2 separate regions of the Homo sapiens genome follow, and region 1 is linked to region 2. The links are contacts of gene promoters, found by promoter capture Hi-C in human tissues and cell types (Jung and others, 2019). All regions are on one chromosome and are shown on one strand. Each heading gives the region's core, a stretch centred on a gene start or on the middle of the fragment in contact. The rest is flanking DNA. Distances are from core to core; before and after follow the strand shown.

Region 1 (4,264 bases), core at 160-2,659, 310 kb after region 2:
ATATGGTAATCAAAACAGTGTGGTACTGGCATAAAGATAAACTTATAGATGTCTATATGAAATTAAATTGAGAGTCCATAAATAAACCCAAACATTTATGGCCAGGTGATTTTTGACAAGAGTGCTAAGATCATTCAATAGGGAGAGAATGCTCTCTTTAACAAATGGTGCTGGGACAACTGGATATCCACATTCAACAGAATGAAGTTGGGCCCCTTCCTCTCATTATATGCAAAAATTATCTCAAAATGTATCGATCACCTAAATATAAGAGCTAAAACTCTTAGAAGAAAACATAATGATAAATATTCATGATTTTTGATTTGGGAATGGATTCTGATATATGACACCAAAAGCATAAGTAAGAAAAGATAAAATGTGGGGAGGGGCCAAGATGACTAACTAGAAACAGCTGTGGTTGGAGGATCCCACTGAGAAGAACGAAAACAGTGAGTGAATCCTGCACCAGCAACTAAGGTATCCAGGCTCACTCATTGGGACTGACTAGGTGGTTGGCATGACCCACAGGGAGTGAGGAAAACAGGGTGGAACAACAGCCCACCTGGAAGCTGATGGGGCAAGGGGTGCTCCCACCCCCAGCCAAGGGAAGTGGTGAGTGATTGTGCTACCCCACCCAGGAAACCATGCTTTTTCCATGGATCTGTGCAACCCATGGACCAGGAGATCCCCTCGTGAGCCAACACCACAAGGGCCTTGGATCCCAAGCACAGAGCTGTGCAGATTCTCAGCTGCCACTTGGCTGGAGACCGTCTAAGACTACTGAGTTCTTGGGGGAAGGGGCAGCAGCCATCACTGCAGCTTCTGTCTGCTGCTTTCCCCTGCCAGTGCCAGAGGGACTGGTGGTTTGGAACCAGGAGGAATTCCCCATGGTGCAGCACAGCAGCTGTGGCAGACTGTGGCCAGACTGCATCTTTAGGCTGGACCCAGACTCATCCCTCCTCACTGAATGGGACCTCCCTGTGGGAATTTCAGCAACTCCAGCCAAGGGTTTATGGACAGAACCCTGATCTCCCTGGGATTGAGTCCCTGTGGGTACTGGGGCTGCGGACTCTGTGGATCATCAGACTTAGTCTTTTCCCCTGCTGGCTCTGAGGAATCTGGGCAGTCTGGATAAGTAGGATCCCCCCCACCACAGCACATCCTTTCTGCCAAGGGACAGACAGAATGCTTCATTAAGTGGGTCCCTTATCTTGTGACTCCTGACTGGGTGAGACTCCCCAGCAGGGGTTACCAGACACTTTATACAGGAGCACTCCCACTGTCATCAGTTTGGTGCCCCTCTTGGACGGAGCTCCCAGAGGAAGAAGCAGGCAGCCATCTTTGCGGTTCTGCAGCCTCCACTGGTGACACCACCAGGGTGGGGAGGGACCCAGGTGAATAGGATCTGGAGTGGGCCCCCAGCAAACTGCAGCAGTCTTGCAAAAGAGGGTCCTGTCTGCTAAAAGAAAAACAAACAGAAAGCAACAACAACAGCATCAACAAAAAAGTCCCCACAAAAAGCCCATCCAAAGATCAGCAGACTCAAAGATCAAAGCTAGATAAACTCAGGAAGATGAGAAAGAATCAATAAAAAATGCTGAAAACTCAAAAAGCCAGAGTGTCTCTTCTCCTCCAAATGATTGTAACACCTCTCCAGCAGGGCACACAACTGGGCTCAGGCTGAGAAGGATGAACTGACAGAAGTAGGCTTCAGAAGGTGGGTAATAATGAACTTTGCCGAGCTAAAGGAGTATGTTCTAACTCAATGCAAAGAACCTAAGAATCAGGATAAAACATTACAGGAGCTATTCATCAGAATAACCAGCTTAGAGAGGAACATAAATGACTTGATGGAACTGAAAAACACAACATGAAAACATCACAATGCAATCATAAGTATCAATAGCCGAATAGACCAAGTGGAGGAAAGAATTTAAGAGATTGAAGACTATCTTGCTGAAATAAAATAGGCAGACAAGATTAGAGAAAAAGGAATGAAAAGGAACAAACAAAATCTCTGAGAATTATGGGATTATGTAAAGAGACCGAACCTACAACTGATTATGGTACCTGAAAGAGACAGGTGAATGAAACAAAGTTGGAAAACATACTTCACGATATCATCCAGGAGACTTCCCCAACCTAGCAAGACAGGCCAACATTCAAACTCAAGAAATACAAAGAACCCAGTAAGATACTCCATGAGAGGATCAACCACAAGACACATAATTATTAGATTCTTCAAGGTCAAAATGAAGGAAAAAATGTTAAGGGCAGCCAGAGAGAAAGGCCAAGTCACCTACAAAGGGAAGCCCATCAGAATAACATCAGGCCTCTCAGCAGAAACTTTACAAGCCAGAAGAGATTGGGGGTCAATATTCAACATTCTTAAAGAAAAGAATTTTCAACCCAGAATCTCATATCTGGCCAAATGAAGCTTCATAAGCAAAGGAGAAATAAAATATTTTTCAGACAATCAAATGCTGAGGGAATTCATCCACCACCAGGCTTGACTTGCAAGAGCTCCTGAAGGAAGCACTAAATATGGAAAGGAAAAGCCATTATCAGCCACTACAAAACATACTGAAGTACACAATGAAGACCAATGAAACTGTGAAGCAACTACATCAATAAGTCTGCAAAATAACTAGCTAGTATCATGATGACAGGATCAAATTCACACATAACAATACTAACTTTAAATATAAATGTGCTAAGTGCCCCATTTAAAAGACACAGAATGGCAAGCTGGGTAAATTGTGAAGACCCATTGGTGTGCTGTATTCAAGAGACTCATCTCACATGCAAACACACACATAGGTTCAAAATAAAGGGATAGAGGAAAATCTACCAGGCAAATGGAAACCAGAAAAAAGCAGGGATTGCAATCCTAGTTTCTGACAAAATAGACTTTAAAGCAATAAAGACCAAAAAAGACAAAGAAAGGCATGGTAAAGGGTTCAATTCAACAAGAAGAACTAACTATCCTAAATATGTATGCACCCAATACAAAAGCAGATTCCTAAAATAAGCTCTTAGAGACGTACAAGGAGATGTAGACTCCCACACAATAATAGCGGGAGACTTTAACATCCACTGTCAATATTAGGCAGATCATTCAGACAGAAAATTAACAAAGATATTCAGGACTTGAACTCAGCTCTAGATCAAGTGGACCTGATAGACCTCTACAAAACTCTCCATCCTACAACAACAGAATATTCATTCTATGCATTGCCACATGGAACTTACTCTAAAATTGATCACATAATTGGAAGTAAAACACTCCTCATCAAATACAAAAGAACTGAAATCACAACAAACAGTCTCTCAGACCACAGCATAATCAAATTAGAACTCAAGACAAAGAAACTCACTCAAAATCACATAGCTACATAGAAATTGAACAACCTGCTCCTGCATGACTCCTGGTTAAATAATGAAATTAAGGCAGAAAGCAAGAAGTTCTTTGAAACCAATGAGAACAAAGAGACAATGTATCAGAATCTCTGGATGCAGCTAAAGCAGCTGTTAAGAGGGAAATTTAGAGCACTAAATGCCCACATCAAAAACCTAGAAAGATCTCAAATTGAAATGCTAACATTAAAACTAAAAGAACTGGAGAACCAAGAGCAAACAAACTCCAAAGCTGGCAGAAGACAAGAAATAACCAAGATCAAAGCAGAACTGAAGGAGATAGATAAAAGAAGAATGCTTCAAAAAAATCAAGGAGTCCAGAATCTGGTTTTTTGAAAAACTAATAATATAGATAGACTGCTAGTTAGCTAGACTAACAAAGAAGAAAAGAGAGAAGAATCAAATGGACACAATAAAAAATGTTAAAAGAGGATATCACTACTGACCCCACAGAAATAAAAACAATCATCAGAGAATACTATAAACACCTCTATGCACATAACCTAGAAAATCTAGAAGAAATGGATAAATTCCTGGACACATACACCCTCCCAAGACTGAACCAGGAGGAAGCTGAATCCCTGAATAGACCAATAACAAATTCTGAAATTGAGACAGTAATAAATAGTCTAAAAGAAAAAGCCCAGGACCAGAAGGATTTACAGCTGAATTCTACTAGAGGTACAAAGAGGACCTGGCACCATTTCTTCTGAAACTATTCCAAACAATTGAAAAGGAGGGACCCTTCCCTAATTCATTTTATGAGGCCAGTATCATCCTGATACCAAAACCTGGCAGAGATACAACAAAAAAGAAAGCTTCAGGCCAATATCCTGATGAACACTGA
Region 2 (4,265 bases), core at 170-2,669:
CACCCATCTGTGCCAGTCCCTAGAGACTTACTATTTCTGAATCTCAGAAGAACCCTCAGAAATAGACATTGGCACCCTGATCTGACCGGTGAGGACACTAAGGCTTTCAGGCATAACTTGCCCAAGGAATGGGTGGAACTAGCACGCAGCCCAAGGCCCCTGTGTCTTGTTGCCTCCAGACCTGAGCCTTTCACTTAGAAACTACATGAGTCTCAAAGATGGGTCAACGAAATAGTTTTTGTCCCTACAACACAGAGCAAACATGATATATACAAAGGCAAATGATTAGTGTGTGACAGGGAATGCTGGGGAGAGGAAACAGCAGAGAAATGCTATGAAACCCAGAGCAGCAGGAACTTGGGCCTCTTCTAGGAATGGTGTAGACCCAAGAAAGGAGGGGCTCGTTTGAGGTTTCTGGAGGAGTCTCTGCCAGGTAGGAACTGAGATGAGATGGGTGATCCTGGAAGTGGCACAAACACTGAGGGGAATCCCCCAACCTGGGCCTGCTGGAGTTCCTGGCAGGAAGGACCTACCCAGGGTCAGACTTCTTTCCAGGGCCAAACCCTGCCCAGAGCTGAGGCAAGACCCCTTAGGCTATAGAGATGGGGGTGAAAACAGATGCTTCTCCAATTCTTCCTTTCCTCTTTTCAGTCTGGCTGAGAATCTGGGGGAGGAAAGTCCCTGGGGTAGAGGGGAAGTGAGAGCTGCCACATTGGGCCTGGGCAGAGGGGCAGAGCTAGGAGATGGAGCTAAGTGTGGCTTTGCAAGTTGTCTATATTTGCATGCTGAGCTCACTGCTGCTCTTTTTCTCCCCAGAAAATAAAATTACATCATGGTAGGGGGAAGGCAGGAGTGGGGCATGTTTGGGAAAGGTGAGAGGCACGCAAGAGGGCCTGAAGGCATCATCCTGGAAAGAGAAGATCCAGGGCTCCTCAAGTCCCCATGTGGCCCCAACCCCTCACTCCCAATGTGGATAAGTCTGATCAGTCATTTTCCACTGCGCCCCTGACCCTTAAGGCAAGGCAAGAAGTTTTTACAAATATTAAAGCCAGCAGCTAAGAGAATCCAGCCCCCAAAGGCTTTCCAACCCCCTAAACCAAACCTACTCTGTGCCTCCCAGGGGTCCTAGGCACCGTGGTCATCCAAAGGTCAAAAGGGGAGGAGGGTGCCCTACTGGGTAAGAATTAAATATGAGAATTGTTTCGCAGTTCAGGGGGAAGAGACCGTCTCCGCTCCAGCCCTCCGCCCAATTCTGTCCCCCATCCTAGGAGTCTTCCAGAACCCCAGCCCCTCGGTCCCCCGCCCCCTCCTGCCTCTCCATCCCTCCCCCTCCTCCCGCCATTCCCCGCCCCCCGCCCCTCCCCGGCTCTGACATCACCGGCCAGCCGGGTGGAGTGAGCGGCGCTGGGCTCGGGCTCCGGCTCCGCGGGCGGAAGAGGCGGCGGCGGCGGCAGAAGCGGCGGCGGCGGCGGCGGGAGCCGAGGAGGAGGTTCCGGACGCTGCTTAGGAACCGGGGACTCAGGAGTGCCCGCGCCCTGAGCGCTCAGCTCCAGAGGCGGTGAGAGGGGCGGAGAGGAGACATGTCGCGGGGAAGGGGCAGATTTCGGGGTCTAGGCTTGGAGGGGCAACGATCTGGGACACCGGGGGCCAGACGGGGAGTGTGGGGACCCCGGACGAGTCCACTTTGTGTCAGGCCTCACGGGGTCCGTCCCTCGGTCGGTGCGTCCCGAGCGCCGAGCGTGTGCTGGAGGCGGCGTGGCTCCGGCCAGCCCGTTCCACGCTGAACGGCAGTTTGGGAGTCGGACCGGGGCCTGTGGATTAGGATGCAGCCTGCTTCCCGCCCAGCCGGCTCGGCCAGGCCAGCGCCCGCCCCTCCCTCCCCGCTCAGGCTTCGGACTCGCCTCCGCTGGCGGTCTCCCGGCCCAGCCCTGTCTCGGTTCCGCGGGCGGCTGGTACCATGTGCCCTCACCCCCAGCTCACTGCACCTGGGGAAGAGGTGGGCTTGGCGGAAAGCTTGTCCAGAGGGAAGGAGGAGCTGGGGGTGTAGAGAAGTGATGTATATCTAACGTAAAAACCCTTATTAATTTCATATAATCCGTGTCAAAACTGACAGGGAAACACGCACACCTATAAGGCACGCCAGCACACACAGTGACACACACCCATGTGACTTATACACATAGTCTAGCACACTCCAAATCACAAACGTCCCTGGACTACGCATCCGGCCGCCCACCACACCCCCACTCTGTGGGGTGGGGCATCCCATGAGGAGTCTTCTGAACTGCGGGCTCCAAGTCATCAGTCCGACAGGACAGCTGAGTGGACAGAAAGGGCCACTGTCCCCAAATCCATCCTGATTTTCTGGCAGCTTTTCCCAGCCCCATGGTTTCAGATTGTTCCTCTTTAAAACTGTGGGGAAAGATGGGAGAAAATCTTGGTCTCATTCCTCTAACACAAGGAGACAGGATTTTGCGGACTAATGAGGGTAGGGGCTTCTGGTGGCTTCTCTTCCTGGGTCCAGTTAGGGCTTAGCGTGCTGGGAGTGGCTAGTTTCTGGGTAAGAGTGGCCAAGGGATGGAGGAGGAGGGGGTGGAAGAAACGGAGAGGAAAAAGAATGGGTATGAGTCAGCCAAGAATGGAACCCAAGTCAGAGAGAGAATGAGAGGAATGTGTGTGAGAAGCAGACAGACATCTCCAGAGAGGTCTAGAGATAGTCAGGGAACCAGGGAGAGGGAGGAAGTGAGAGAAAGAGATGGTCAGAGAAGTGCAAACAGTGTTTGAGAGTGCACTAAACAAATTAGGGAGGATGAAGGTTGGGGGAGACCACTGGGAGTTAGGGAAAGTGGTACGTGTGTCTGGGCCCCAGGCTGTCAGAGCGATTAGCTTTAATTGCTCTTCCCTTTGTGGTTAAATACTCCATTGGGGAAATTGCCAGTGATGCCCTAGGCTGCAGGCTTCCCTGGTTGCCTACTTCCTCAATTCCGTGCCCATCATGTGTGGATGTATTATCATGCATGAAGAGGGTCACAGAATCACAGAGCGCCTCACTCTCTCACACAGATCCTCACGCACAATGTCATGATGGATATCTTCACCAGCTGGTAGGCAGCCAACCACTGAATCTCCAAGCCACTCCGACCAAACTTACTCTGTCTTTTGTAGCAGGGATGCTCACCCCTTCCTAATTGCAGCTCCGAATATTCAGATGGGGACAGTGAAGCACAGATCTCAGGAGTCCTAAGTATTCATGGCTACCACTAAGTTGGATAGGTGAGTAGGAAATGCTAGAAGGGGTGAAAGCCTATAGAAAGGAGGAAAAGAGAGACTGAAAGATGAAGTAGAAAGGAAATGCATGACAAAGAGTGAGAGAGATGGAGAGAGACAGAAATAGAAGCAGGGAGTGCCACACCAGAAGAGTGGAAACAGAGATGGGCTGGGGAGAGTCCTAGGCCCCATTCCCCTCCTCGCCATCAGCCGGCCCTCCTCTGCTCTGCCTGATCCAGTGCCAGCTATCTCCTGATGCCCCATCTTGGGTCTGGCTCTTTCTAGACCAAGGGCTGAAGGCTAATCCTTGTCCCCATGCCCAAAGGTAATCCATTTTGCTTCTTGGACTGAAGTGAACATTTTAGGGCCCAGATGTCCTGCCTCTCGTCACTTCCAGGCTGACCCTGGAGCCTCAGAACCCTCAATTTCCTTGTTACAGGAGTAAAGACAACCCCCTCCTCCCCCACAAAGCTGGATAAAAAGCTTAAAGAAGAAATTAATTGAGAATGATATTAAAGGAAATAAACTACAGGACTGCTTGAATTTGGGGCCCAGTTATAATTTAAAATAGGAAAGCTGGACCCCTACTCTCTCCCTTCCAACCCCTCTGCCTCTCCGTGATTACTTCCAACTTCAGGCAGAAGACTGACAGACTTGAGTGCCTGGGAGTCCCCTCCTGCCCAATACAGGGACCTCTAGGTCCTTGCAGCTGTCTGGGATGGCCCCTCCCCTCAGGCTTAGGCAGCTGCAACAGATGTGGAAGAGGGACGGGCAGCAACTCTTAATCTTCAGGCTTCCTTCTCGAATTTACAGAGGATTTGGAACCAAACGTTAGAAGGGATAATCTACCACGACTTAATGTCAAAATGCACAGAAATTCTTTTGGTGCTGCCACCTCCTCCACAGGTGGTTATCCCAATTGCCAGGCTTCTCAAAGCACTCCCAGGGCCTGGCTCTTCTTACCCCAGTGCCCATGGAGCTCCCACCTGTCCCACCCT

Evidence for each region. Contacts are between HindIII fragments. The study calls those that stand out against the background at their distance.
Region 1: a fragment that was not itself captured here is called in contact with the fragment with the promoter of PEA15 in region 2 in 1 of the 25 tissues and cell types used here (small bowel).

What each region holds. Positions count from the first base shown.
Region 1 is chr1:160,511,328-160,515,591 of GRCh38, forward strand. All of the region lies in intron 1 of SLAMF6 (SLAM family member 6), which reads right to left. Among named protein-coding and RNA genes, the nearest start is that of SLAMF6, 9.8 kb to the right of the region's middle. The HindIII fragment of the contact is 3,853 bases long and covers 1-3,336 here.
Region 2 is chr1:160,203,965-160,208,229 of GRCh38, forward strand. It overlaps PEA15 (proliferation and apoptosis adaptor protein 15), which reads left to right and starts at 1,420. Exons shown (of 4, transcript NM_003768.5): 1 at 1,420-1,558. It overlaps PEA15-AS1 (PEA15 antisense RNA 1), which reads right to left. Exons shown (of 5, transcript NR_123725.1): 3 at 1,374-2,412; 4 at 1,107-1,170. RefSeq lists enhancers at 626-725, 1,076-1,125 and a silencer at 1,276-1,535. The HindIII fragment of the contact is 6,187 bases long and covers 1-2,881 here.